Linked DNA regions of Homo sapiens: regions 1 and 3 are each linked to region 2. Evidence: promoter capture Hi-C in 16 types of primary human blood cells and fetal thymus (Javierre and others, 2016). All regions are on one chromosome and are shown on one strand. Each heading gives the region's core, a stretch centred on a gene start or on the middle of the fragment in contact. The rest is flanking DNA. Distances are from core to core; before and after follow the strand shown.

The links. The method cuts DNA at HindIII sites, captures the fragments that hold promoters and counts their contacts. A CHiCAGO score of 5 or more calls a contact.
Region 1: a contact is called between a fragment that was not itself captured here and the fragment with the promoter of ARID5A in region 2, in 1 of 17 cell types (M0 macrophages). The highest score is 5.3, in M0 macrophages.
Region 3: a contact is called between a fragment that was not itself captured here and the fragment with the promoter of ARID5A in region 2, in 2 of 17 cell types (total CD4 T cells and naive CD8 T cells). The highest score is 5.4, in total CD4 T cells.

The regions. Positions count from the first base shown.
Region 1 is chr2:96,783,140-96,787,688 of GRCh38, forward strand. The region is part of intron 1 of CNNM4 (cyclin and CBS domain divalent metal cation transport mediator 4); the gene reads left to right. Among named protein-coding and RNA genes, the nearest start is that of MIR3127, 13 kb to the right of the region's middle. The HindIII fragment of the contact is 701 bases long and covers 1,368-2,068 here.
Region 2 is chr2:96,535,124-96,539,840 of GRCh38, forward strand. ARID5A (AT-rich interaction domain 5A) reads left to right here and starts at 1,629. Exons shown (of 7, transcript NM_212481.3): 1 at 1,629-1,707. The coding sequence starts at 1,704. RefSeq lists silencers at 1,548-1,907, 2,588-2,797 and enhancers at 3,068-3,187, 3,405-3,950. The HindIII fragment of the contact is 5,212 bases long and covers 1-3,578 here.
Region 3 is chr2:96,287,881-96,291,944 of GRCh38, forward strand. SNRNP200 (small nuclear ribonucleoprotein U5 subunit 200) reads right to left here. Exons shown (of 45, transcript NM_014014.5): 17 at 3,871-4,020; 18 at 3,512-3,622; 19 at 2,804-2,935; 20 at 2,446-2,634; 21 at 1,919-2,116; 22 at 1,347-1,499; 23 at 1,157-1,237; 24 at 783-866; 25 at 1-89. Among named protein-coding and RNA genes, the nearest start is that of SNRNP200, 16 kb to the right of the region's middle. The HindIII fragment of the contact is 2,153 bases long and covers 345-2,497 here.

The sequences.
Region 1 (4,549 bases), core at 468-2,967, 250 kb after region 2:
CCTCACAAGGCCATGAGTGAGCTGTGCCTCTCTGTAAGCAATTGAGCAAAGGTACAGCGGGGAAGGGGTTCCCTGCCACCTCTGGTAGGGGATGCTGGGGCAGGGGCGAGATGGCTGTGAGCCATGCTTCCAGCTCTGCAGTTCCAGGAGAAAATGCCAGAGGTGCTTCTGAGAATACGGACTGGGTGGAAAGGAAGAAGCAGTTTGCTGGAAGGGTCTGAACTCAGAAGGACGCTGATGGTGCTGGTAGGACTGCTGGGACCCCCTGCACCTCCTGGCCACGGAGAGATCCTGCTCCCAGGGACCAGCGTCTGGGTGGGACACAGTTCACTCCTCTCTCCACTTCATGTTCTTTTTCTTCAGCAGATGGCTCAAGTTCCTTGTTTTTCTCCTTGCTTTCTGACAGCCGTAGCTTCTGAAACCTGCCATTTTTGGTCTCCTGATGCCTGATTTCCTAATTGTCCTGACTGTGTCTTCTAGGAAGCATTAAGTCTGAACTGACTTATTAGGGAACTTCAGAAAGTTAAACACACAAAACCCTTTCTTTGACTCCTATCTTAAGGACATGGAGATACAGTTACATATATTTATACACAAGGATATTCATATGGCAAAAACGGGGAGAAGGCACAATTTAAGAGCCCAATGGGGACTGGGATTGTGTATGCATCTGTACAATGACATGTTATGAAGTCATTCTGTTTTTTATAAAACTTTTTAGTGACATGGGAAAATACAAAGAATGTAAAGAATTTAAAAAGCAGCGTACAAAACAATATATGTGATCCAATTTGTGGTGGAAATATTTTATCTATATATATCCATTTTAAAACACCAAAGAAAATACACAGTTAACAGTAGTTATCTTTGGAAGGCAGGATTATAAGTGATCTTAGTTTTCTTCCTTCCACTTTTGTTACCGATATCAGAAAAAAACTCTGTCTCTACGAAAATAAAATAAAATGAAATAAAATAAAATTAGCTGGGTGCAGTGGCTCATGCCTGTTGCCTCAGCTCCTCAGGAGGCTGAGGCGGGAGAATCACTTGAGCCCAGCAGGTCGAGGCTGCAGTGAGCTAGGATCGTGCCACTGCACTCTAGCCTGGGTGGCAGCAAGACCTTGTCTCAAAAAAAAAGAAAAAAAAAGTCCTTATCTTTTAGAGATACATATTGAAATACTAAATATTTTCAGGTAAAATGTATACATGTTTACAGATAAAACCTGGGCTTTGCTTCAAAATCAGTGAGTAGAGCAAGTGGGAGTAGCGAGGAAGAAAGGCTGGTCATGAGGAGCTGTTAATTGTTAGGTGAGGGTGTAATTAGATTATTATCTCTACTTTTGTAGATGCTTGATATTTTCCATAGTAAAAGCTTAAAAATCTAGAGACTACTAGCTAAATGGAAAATCAGAGGCATAAAGACCTGTCCCCAGGGTGAGGGGCCAGTCTTAGAGTCCCCATCATCAGTTTGTCAATAGCTTCACCCACTATGGGCTTGTATTAAAGGAAGAAGGCTATCTGTAGCAGAAGTCCCATTTCTGTATCCCAGCCTGATCACCCCTTGGGGTGTGACCCTGGGCATGACTTCTCTGGGCCTTAGCTTCCTCCTAGGAAGAGTGGGATTGACAGTAGATGTAGGGCAACTCTCTCCTGGGAACATGGTCACCCAGACAGGTTGGTGGCAGGGGGAGGTTGACCATGTCCTGTGCGAAGAGGCAACTGAGGCATAGCTATCTTTATGGGGCTATTTTTTCTTTTTGAGATAGAGTCTGGCTCTGTCACCCAGGCTGGAGTGCAGTGTTGCAGTCTTGGCTCACTGCAACCTCTGCCTCCCGGGTTCAAGCGATTCTCATGCCTCAGCCTCCTGAGCAGCTGAGATTATAGGTGGGCACCACCACGCCCAGCTAATTTGTGTGTTTTTAGTAGAGATAGGATTTCATCATGTTGGCCAGGCTGGTCTCAGACTTCTGACCTCAGATGATCCTCCTGCCTCAGCCTCCCAACGTGCTGGGATTACAGGCATGAGCCACTGTGCCCAGCATTTACGGGGTATTCTAAAGGGAGCTCTTCAAGCTTTTCATCTTGCCCCTATTTTAAAACCTTTTTTTTTCTTTTTAGTTTGTGCCTCCATTCAATCAAAAATTATGTACATGTGCTGTTATACTAGTACATGTATTATAGAATGAACACAGAAAAAATTTAAAGAAGTAAAACCGAAGTCCAGGTGCAGTGGCTCATACCTGTAATCTTAGCACTTTGGGAGGCTGAGGCAGGAGGATTCCTGTAGCCCCAGAGTTTGAGACCAACCTGGGCAACATGGCGAAACCCCATCTCTACAAAAAATACGAAAGTTGGCCAGGCATGATGGCCTGTAATCCAGGCTACTTGGGAGGCTGAGGTGGGAGGATCAGTGGAGTCCAGGAGGCCGAGGCTACAGTGAGCTGTGATCGTGTCACTCTGCACTCCAGCCTGGGCCACAGAATGAGACCTTTGTCTCAAAAAAGAAAACATAAAAAAATTAGCTGGGCGTGGTAGCATGTGCCGGTAGTCCCAGCTATTCTGGAGGCTGAGGTGGGAGGATTATTTGAGCCCAGGAACTCTAGGCTGCAGTGAGCTATGATTGTACCACTGTTGTCCAGCCTGGGCAACAGAGAGAGACCCTGTCTCTAAAAAAAGATAAAAATGCCAGGCGCAGTGGCTCACGCACTTTGGGAGGCTGAAGCGGTGGATCACGAGGTCAGGAGATCCAGACCATCCTAGCTAACATGGTGAAACCCCATCTCTACTAAAAATACAAAAAATTAGCCGGGCATGGTGGCGGGCGCCTATAGTCTCAGCTACTCAGGAGGCTGAGGCAGGAGAATGGTGTGAACCCAGGAGGTGGAGCTTGCAATGAGCTGAGATCACGCCACTGCACTCCAGCCTGGGCAACAGAGTGAGACTCTGTCTCAAATAAAGAAAAAAAAAAGATAAAAATAATTTTTAAAAAGTAAAGATAGGCCTGGCGCGGCAGCTCACGTCTGTAATCCCAGCACTTTGGGAAGCTGAGGTGGGTGGATCACCTGAGGTAGGGAGTTTGAAACCAGCGTGGCCAACATGGCGAAACCCCGTCTCTACTAAAAACACAAAAATTAGCCAGGAATGGTGGCATGCTCCTGTAATCCCAGCTACTCGAGATGAGGCAGGAGAATTGCTTGAACCTGGGAGGCAGAGGCTGCAGTGAGCCAAGATCGTGCTATTGCACTCCAGCCTGGGTGGCAGAGCAAGACTCTGTCTCAAAAAAAAAAAAAAAGTTCTTAAAAAGTAGTGTATTAGAGAAACTTAGAAAAGTGGAAAATGATTAAGAAATGAAAGTCACATGGCCAGGTACGGTGGCTCATGCCTGTAATCCCAGCACTTTGGGAGGCCCAGGTGGGCAGATCACTTGAGGTCAGGAGTTCCAGACCAACCTGGCCAACATGGTGAAACCCCGTCTACTAAAAAATACAAAAAATTAGCTCAGCGTGGTGGCAGGCACCTGTAATCCCAGCTATTTGGGAGGCCGAGGCATGAGAATGGCTTGAACTTGGGAAGCGGAGGTTGCAGTGAGCTGGGATCGCACCACTGCACTCCATCCTGGGTAACAGAGCAAGACTCTGTCTCAAAAAAAAAAAAAAAAAAAAAAAAAAGTCACTCTTATCCCATCATCCAAAATGTGGATATTTTGGTGTATTTTCTTCTACCAAGTCAGCAACAAATGATATTGCTTCTCCCCCAATATGAAAATAGTGTCTAATTAGAAGAGTAAAAATAAAAAATAGCATGTGAAGTATAAAATGCATTAAGCAAAAGTGAAGGAAACCAGCAGTCCTTCCTACTCTACTGTTTTGGAACTTTTTACTTTACACAAATAGTGAATCACCGTCTCTTGAGATAAATTCATGTCTGAGTCAGCCTTTTTAAGAGCCCTGCAATATTGTTACAAATAACATTGGCAGGCCCTCCTGGGCACACCTTGCATGCTGGCCTGGGTGTTTCCTTTGTATTAAGGTCACTTCCTAGGGTTGGGAGAAATGGCAGAGTCCAAGGTCTTGCATATTTTACATTTTGGCACATACTGCCAAATTTCTGAAGTAAAAATTGAACTTCCAACGGTGGGTAGTTCTCCTGCCAACACTGAGAGTACCAATCTCTGAAATCTTGACTAATATGATAGGTAAAAAATGAGTTCATTTTGAAAATTTGTATTTCCTTATATTTTGTTTGTATTTATTGTATTTCTATTTAAAATTAAGCTAGTGGTTTTTCTTAGGGATTTATAAGTCTGGTATAAAACAGTGACTTTGGACCAGTTAGCCCAGTAACTTTCATTGAATAATCTCTCTTTTCTCCTGCAATTTAATATACCAGATTTATTATATACAGTATTCCCAATTTGTTGGAGTTTATTTCTGTCCATAAGCCAGGCATGGTGACTCACGCCTACAGTCCCAGCATTTGGGGAGGCCATGGTGGGAGGATCGCTTGAGCCCAGGAGTTCGAGATCAGCCTGGGCAGCATAGTGAAACCTCAT
Region 2 (4,717 bases), core at 379-2,878:
GGTATCCAACCCACAAGTGAGGGGTTGGCCTAGATTGTGACCCCGGGGGCTGCATCCAGAGCTCCATCCCCAACCTTGGGCATAGTGCCTGCCAATCAATGCTTCCAGAATGTACAAAGGTGCTTCCTGATGGCATCCCATCATAGTGTCTTCCACCACAGCCTTAGCTTTCCTGGAGGGGAAAGTGGCTTGTAAACTTGCCAAAGTGGGATGCATTGTTATAATTACCATTATGATTGTTCTGGGTGTCTATTACCAATTCTACAGGTGCTGGCTCTTACAAGCCAACCCATTATGAGGTAGACAGGGGATTTATCCTGCAGAGCCCACAGGGTCGTCTGCTCTAGACTGAGCCTGCAGACATCTTCCATCCCAGGGCCAAAGGGTAAGGGCCAGGGTTTCAGGTTCACCAAACTGCAGCCCTGGTCCCTTCGTTTAGTGTGAGGAGGGGCACCAGTATGATGAGTGGTTAGTAATGGGTGCAAAGCGGGTGGGGGGATGCCTGGGTATGAGGGCTCCTCTTCCTGGGTCTAGCTCTGGCTCCAACACCTACCAGCTGTGCTACTTGAGCTAATCTCTCAGACCTCAGTTTTACGCTATAAAATGAGGACAATGATGGTGTCAAGTGCATAGAGCTATTATGAGTATTAAAATTCATCAACAAAGATTTTTGTGTAGCTTCTATGTGCTAGGAACAGGGTTCCCATCCTAGCTAGCCACCTGCTGAGACTGAAACCCTGAGCCTCCATTTCTTCCTCTTTGGCCTGCACAGGTCCAGGTTGCTGCTATGGCTGGCTGGGCACCTCCTCCTGCCTCCATTCGCCCTAGGCCTCATTCCCACCTCCCACAGCCTGAACTCATGCCCCTTCTTTGGACTACTCAGCTTGTAGCTGCCACACTCTGTCTGCATTATGTGTGTGGACATTGACTATTACTGGCAGGCCTGGCCACAGAGCCTAGGCCAAGGATTTACTAGTTTGGTCCTTGTCTAGCTCACACTAACCACCTCTCCTTTTTTTTTTTTTTTTTTTTTTTTTTTTTTTTTTTGAGGCAGGGTCTCCGTCTATTGCCCAGGATCCAGGATAGAGTGCAGTGGTGTGATCAAAACACACTGCAGCCTCGACCTTCTGGGCTCAAGTGATCCTCCCGCCTCCGCCTCCCAAAGCAGGGATTCCAGGCGTGAGCCGCCGCTCCCGGCCTCACCTGGCCTTCTTTGTTGGGCTAGGTGGGGACTGGGAAATGCACAGGGCCACTTTCAAATCAAAGTCAGAAGCACTTTGCTCGCTCCACAGAGTCCTCAGTGCTCTGCTGAAAGCAAGGAGGCTTTTTCCAAGGCTCTAGTTTTGCCTCCAGGGAAACTGAGGCACAAGGCAGCAATGATTACTGAGGGTCCTGCCTCCGCTCCTCTAGGTGAGGAGCCTATTCCAGGGGCTCCAGTCTGAAAGCCTAGAGGCGAGGGGCGCGCACTACAATTCCCAGAGGTCCCCGGACTCAAGGGCGGTCCCCGCCCCCCGCCTTCTCCGCGCGACGAAGCCGGGCTTACCAATGGGAGCCCGGAGTGGGGCGAGCAGGGGCGGGACGGGGCGGGACTGCGGGGAGGTGGCCGGCGGGCCGCGCCGCGAGCCAGTATCTCAGAGAGCGCGGGGTCCGGACAGCCGCGCGCTGAGGGTCTCGGGGCGGGCGCCGCGGGACCTCTCCGGGCCATGGGTAAGCGGCTCTGCGGCGCGGCCCGGACAGGGGCTCGGCGGCCCTGCAGGGAGGTTCAAGGTGCCGGCGCCGGGTCCCCTCCAGCCCTCGTGGCAGTCGGTGCGCTGTGTGGGGCGGAGAGGGGCCCGGGGTGGGTTTCGGGGCGCGGGCCAAGGGGAGCGAGCCCGGCCCGCGGCTTCAGCGCTCCCCGGCCGGCGCGGAAGGGGTGAGGCTGGGCGTCCGCGCGAGCTTCGAGAAAAGGAAAGACAAAAAGTTTTGGCGGCCAGGGGCTTCCCGGGCGTTTATCTCGAAACTCTTTTCGCCGTCTCTTGCCTGAAATATGCCGAGCCCGGTACGGCTCTGTCGTCCCACTTCCTGCTGCGGTTTCCACCTCGAGCTGGGCTCAGCTAATTTGTTGTGACAGCTGTCGGCAGCCGCCCCTCCGCCCCGTGACATCCCGCAGGTTTCAGAACCGCGGCGCCGCCGGGCACAGACTCCGGGTCCAGAGCGCGCGGCCCTTTCCTCTGCGGCCGCCGTTTCCTGAAAGGGGCTGCGCGGGTGTGAAGAACTTGCTCAATGCGCTTTGTAGGATCCACTGTTCCTCTTTCGGCCGCGGGCTGCGCCGATGGTCCGGGGAGCCCGGCTTCTCGCCCCCTGCCCCTTCCTTCTCTTCCCTTTTCTCTTTTCCTCTCCTGTCTCTCCGCCCACCCGCCGCAGCCCCACAGGAGAGGGGTCGCTTCCCTGGTTGCTCTCCTCTCCTGTCCCTTGTGTGTCCCCTTGTCTTCCCTCGGTCTGCAGAAGGGACGGGGTGGCGGCTGGGGAGCGTCAGGGGAAGAGGGCAAGAGCGTGGGCTACGAGCTTGCAGGCGATGCCCGGCTTCGCGCTCGGCGGGAGCTGCGGGCCAACCCGGGCCCGCGCTCCGTCCCTCCGCGGTGTCTAGGGGTCGCCCGGGCTGGGGTCGCGTCACCCTCCGCCCAGCGCCGGCGTGGTGGGGCTTGCGCGGTGCAGGACCCCCGAGGGCCCAGGGGGTCCCAAGGCGCTGCGGGTCCAGTGTCCCTTTGTTTGCAGAGTCTTGGGCCAGTAAGGAGTGCTCCGCGGGCCCCAGGGGAGGACAACAGGTGCCTCTTGCCCCACCCGGGCTCCTCTGGTGGGAGCCCACACGCACGGTGGCGTCACTGCGCCTACAGGCAACGCTAGAGCACAGGAGGGGTGGGAGGTCGGGGCTCGAGGGCTTCACCCCGCAGCAGAGCTCAGAGCCCAATCCAGGCCTTAGGGACCCGCCTGGGGCCTAGAACTTGGTGTGGCAGAGGTAGAAAGGGCCTCCGATAATCTGCTTCTACAGTTGAGAGACGTCAACTGGCACCTCTGAGCCTCTGCCCCGTAGGTGAAATGGGAACACACGAAACCATCTGAGGAGCTCTCACTGTCCGTCACCACCAAATGTGGCCCAGACTCCGTGGGGAGGGACAGTCCCATCCTGGAACTGGGGCTTTTAGGACATCCCAGAGCCCGGTAAGAGGGACAGGGAGAATGGGGCTTGGAAGTTGGTAGCCTCACATTCAGTGTCCCCCGCACCTCCTTCCCTTTCTGTACCCTCTGGTGGCTCTTGTGGCCTCAGCTGCCCCCAGACCCTGTCTCTCTCGCCCTCCCCCAAGCTGAGGTACTGAGGTTGGGCTGTGGCTTGAGCTGCACCTGTGCCCTGTTAGGGAGTGGGGGTCCCAGGCCCATCGCGTTTCTTCTCACTGCTGGCTCCAGCTCAACACTTGGCAGGCCCCCCTCCCCAAACTGCTGGAGCAAGCTCGCGTAGACTCGGCCTGGCCGCCGCTCCCGGGCTGCCGAGTGGACCGGCCGTTTCGCCGCTTCAAAGGCTGTCTTTGTTTTGCTCCAGCTCAAGCTTAGAGAAACTTAAGCCAACAACCTCAGCCGAGGGGGCGGGGCGGCGTCTGCTGGTTGTTATTGAGGCTGCTGTTACCATTATTGTGGTAATTGACGCAGTGTTCCCAGTCGGTGACTTTTCATGAAAGGAAGTGTCACTTCCTTCCCATCACACCCAGGGTGAGTGGGGCGGGCAGCAGAAAGATGGGGAGGGAGAGAAGGAAAGGGGTGTGTGCCTCCAGCAGACCCTTAAACTTGAGAGCTGTGTGGCCTTGTACTAGTCACTGCCCCTCTCTGGGCAACAGGGGTCTGTAAGTCCATTGCGCTCATCCTGCACCCAGGAGGCTGATGTTTCCGGAGCACCTGCTGGGCAGCGAGGTGCCTTGGGGAGGGAGCAGGACAGGCAGGCCTCTGATCTTCTCACTGAGCCTGGCTGTGGTTTGTGGGGGAAGCCTCCTTTCTCTTCTCACTTTTTTCTGCTGAGAACATTGGGCACATTGAGTCTAGCACGCCCATCTTGTAGATGGGGAAAGGGAGATACAGAACCAGTGACCAACTTGGTAAGAGGTGCAGCCATGCAGTGCTGGAACCCCTTGCCCCATCTGTCCTCTTGGCCCACTTTCATCTGCTTCCAGCTTGATGTCTGGCAGGGCAGGGGCCCACTGACTTCCCCGCATCCACCCACTGCCTGGCCCCATAGCTACCTTCTAGTCCTGGCTAAGCCCCGTGAGACATCTTAAGTTTGTCTTCAGTGACTCTCAACCACCGCCCGACTGCCTTCACCTTCCTGCCTTTGCATACCTGCCTTTGCTTCGCCAGGTTGGTTGGGCCCTGGCCAGAGCTGGCCCCCTACTCTCTCAGGTAACAGGTAGCAGTTTTTTAAATGGAATCTCAGTAGGTATCAACAGGTCTTTCCTCCTTCCTCAAGATTATGGAGATAACACCCCTTATTCAAAGATGGTGGGTCCTCTGGGCCCTCCCCGACCCAGGCCAGGGAAGTTGATTCATAGAGTGTGGGGGCCATGCCCCTTCCCGGCCCTCCCCCTCTCCCCGCTGCTGCCCAGCTCTCTGACCAGCCCCCTCCCATCCCTGAGCCTGGATGCCTTAGCAGTCAACACAGACCTGCTCTTGTTAGCAGAGTGACAGGAGCGATGTG
Region 3 (4,064 bases), core at 171-2,670, 250 kb before region 2:
TTGCAGAGGTTCAGGGTCTTGTCTGTAAGCTGTGCCCAACCTCGGTTCAGGACAATTTCAAATATCGCTCGCATCAACCGGCCAGCCGACTAAGCAAAGAAGCAGCATTCCCACTGTTAAGTCTCGACTATCCCCAGGCCTCATGAGCCACTCTACACACGGTTTCATTACCTCCAGCTCTGACACAACCACCCACCCTAACTCAAAGGCAAAGTCCCCTCTGTCTTTACGCCTTTCTCCGTTCCATATAGTAGATGCTTGCCGGATGGGGAACAATTAGAAGAGTGCTGCGGCTCAAGGTCACTGCACAACATTTTAACCTAACATTCACTGCATGATTTTAAAGCTTTTGAGTCATTTAGCATTTAGAGTTCTAGGAAGAGTTGAGGGTACCAGTGACCTGTTCTTAGAGGTAAAGATGAAGAGCAGCTAATAAAACCCTGTGCCATTTTTGGATTTATTTATGAGCTGTGCAGCAACAGTGGGAAATCACTTTGCTGCTGGGAAGCAGACACTGCGTGCTGTGGCTCTTCCTGTCTCTCTGAGGGCCCGTGGAGCCTCGAAGCATTCCCTCTTAAGGTCTTACCTTTCCCACGTGCTCAAGATGTATACTACAGAGTGGCTGTACCACACATGCACCAACCAACTACCCGGCAAGAGCAGAACTAAGCACTCCTCCCATCTCACTAGGGTCGGGCCTCCTTTCCCCAGGATGCACACAGCACACAGGGATTGAACTGTTCAGGCCCCTTCTCACAGCTGCCATACAACTCCGCTCTCACCTGTGTGACATACACCATGTCAGCCATCAGTGCAAAGCCCTCCAATTTCAGCTGTGAGATGAAGGCTTGCAGAAGAACGTTGATCTGTAAAGAAGCAAAATCAGCCAGCAGGAGACCAATCACTGAACAGTCCAAGAAAGGGAATTACATTTCTGCTCTGAGCATCCAGGCCAGGTGAGATTTGCTACAGGTCTTGATTTACAAATACTAAATAATTGTTATTTCATATAAAAAGAACATGCGAGAAGGCTGCAAAAACTAGGAGAACTGAGCAGGAAACCACACATGAACCCAAATTCAAGGTTCATCTTTTAGAAGATTATGAAAACCACTTAATCCTCATCCTTATCAAAGCAAAGAGGAGAGGAGCTCACCTTAGCACTGGGTTCCTCAATGCTCTCCTTTACAGGGATAGGCACCCTCTCCAGCAACTTCTGCAGCTCCAGCTTCTCCTCCTGCCACAAGGAGGAAAAGGTCAAGGGAAAGCCTTGTGGCCGAGGAGGGACACCATTCAGTGACTTGGTGAGCACCAACTCCCCGCCCCATCATGCTGCATAGGCTCACCTCTCTCACTGTGATGTTCTTGAACTCAGAGGACAATGAGAAGACCCTGAAAAGCTCAATCTCACTCAGGGTGGGCTTCAGCAGCTGGTTGTAAGTCTGCACTGTATCATTGGTGATGTAGTAGTGGCTGGCTATACGGCCCAGTTCTGTCACCTGGAGAGAAGGTAGACTCAATCCAGTGCTGACTATTAATGAGCTCCAACCTCTAACTGTGGACCATAAGTTACTGTCCTATAGGTTTTTTGTACTTTTTTTTTGGTAAAGTATATGACCCAATGTCATTATTGTCCTAATAGGACAACTGGATGAAGTCACAGCAGTACAAGTGCCAGGCCCAGGCACATGAAGAAAAACAGCAGAATAAGCTGACCCATAGTGAAATGATGTCTGCACGGACAAGACAGCTGAATTATCCACCTCAAGTTATGGGAAAAGCTACCCATTTTTCTGCTGTTCTAAGCAACAGGTGATTAGATAGGCAGTACTCACATCAAGAGAGCAATCTGAAAAATTTTTTCCTGGGCCAACAACTTTTGCTGAGACCTTTGCCTCAAAACCCTCACCCCACGCACCTGGAAGTTGCCCGTCTTCTTGTCGTACTTGACCAGATTGTTCTTGTCCAGCATCAGGGCAGCTGTATGAACCAGATCTAGTCGGCGCTGGTCCAGCAGGGGATCTCCCTTGAGGTCATCATGAGAGATGCCATAGAGGGTTGGGGATCGCAGCATTCGGATATAGAGGTAGGCATAGCCCAGCCAGTTCACCGCATCCTACAAGACACAGCTCATGGTTCTTAGCATGGAGAAACTCTTGATGTCCAAATGACAGGCTCCCATGAATTGCTTAGAAATTAATTCCCAACTACAAGGATGCATATTACATCGTATTCTGAATGTTTTTAGCATTTCATTATTAAAAAGATCTAAGCGTCTTCTAAGATCTTGGTAACAAGGGGAACTATCTGCCAGACCCAAGATGTGGGTGCAGGGATGGAAGGCCTCGGACGCTGCTGGCCCGCAGCACAATAGGGACCGACCCACTCCTGGTGCCTTGGTGTCTGCGGGGAAAGCATGAAGCACAACAAGCAGTCCTCCCCTACCTTGGCATTCTGGACATTTCCTAGCACGATTTCTGCATTGAGCATGTCAGGAAGCTTTGAAACCATCTGGCTTTCAATAGGAAGTTGTTGATTGAGGAGGGACAGGTAGTACTGTAGCTCCCCATGAGATGTGATGAGTATGCCTTCACCCTTGGTGTCATACTGGGGTCTTCCGGCACGTCCCAGCATCTAGATCAGAGACAGCGAACCAAGAATGCTATGTCAAGAGAATGTCTGAATTTTGATGCAGGTATCTACATTACAGAACTAGACCTCTGATCTGCTAGCTTTCCAGCATCCCTGCATTTCAGGCAAGGATACTGATCCCTGCTGAGAATAAACTCAAAAGGCTCTGTACCTGCAGAATGTCCAGTGCTCCCAGTTCTGTCCAACGCCCCTTCTCTGGACTGTACACCTGGGTGCCTTTGATGATGACTGTATGTGCAGGGAGATTCACACCCCAAGCTAGAGTTGCTGTGGAAACTAAAACCTACAGAGGCAAAACAAGGTAATGAGGAGAACAGATGCCATCACCAGGGGTTAATATCCCTGGCTTCTCTAGGCAGTTGGCCTCAGAGCTTCTCTCAGGACTAGCCGGTAGGGCGCGTGGGGTCCCAGTACTTGTCAATGTGACACCAGAATAAAGAGGAAAGGTTTCCTTGGGTTCCTCATCTATTCAGTAATGAACATTTCAAGGTTCCAGAGGCACAAGTGCAGACTTGTATTAAACAACCTTAAAGTTACTAGAAAAGGTAAAACAGAGCCTATCCGGAAAGAGGGAACGACAAGGGCACGCGTGCCCCCATGAGACACTGTTTGGAGCTATCTGAAGTCACCAAAGTGCTTGCTTCACTATGCTTCTCAGACTATCCTAAACTCAAGCAAGGTGGGAAGAGTTGGGAGAGTAGCATAAGGTTCTATTTATTGTGTCCACCACAACCCTCTGACCTGGGCTAGCTGGGCCAGAAGCAATAAAGTACCAGGAGCAAACATGGCACAAACTTGACATTGCCCATCTTCTGAAGTATGTCCCACCTGCTCCTCCAAACGCTTTGCACCCCCTCACCTGAATATGTTTATCAGCAAAAAGATCCTCCACGAGTGTTCGGTCAACCCTGGTCATGCCTGCGTGATGAATAGCAAAGCCATAAGGCAGAAGATCCTTCAGCTCTAGGTTCTGTGGAACAAAGAACCGGGGATGAGGCGAGCCTTCCTGTAGGACTCATCCAAGGACTAAGGAAATCTCCTCCCATGAGACCCTGCCCCTTAACTATTATGTGGAATAGTAATAATCACATCCAGACAATCAACCTTAACCCATGGGAAACAACAATACCACAGTACAGTCCTAGAGGAGCTGTCTGGGGCCTGAGATGGACACAGCTGCCAGGTAGGAATGAGAGAACCCAGCTGGCCCCTCCTCACCTTGCACTGCTCAGCTTCTGTTCGCAGGACTTCTGTGGAGGCTGAGCCCTCCCTCAGAAACAGACCCAGAGTGTCCTTTTCTAGGCACATGTCCCGGATGGCCCTGGCTGTCTTTCCAGTCTCCTTCCGGGAGTGGACAAACACCAGCACCTAAGGAGAAGCCACAGTTTGCTACAGTCACGAGATACTCACAG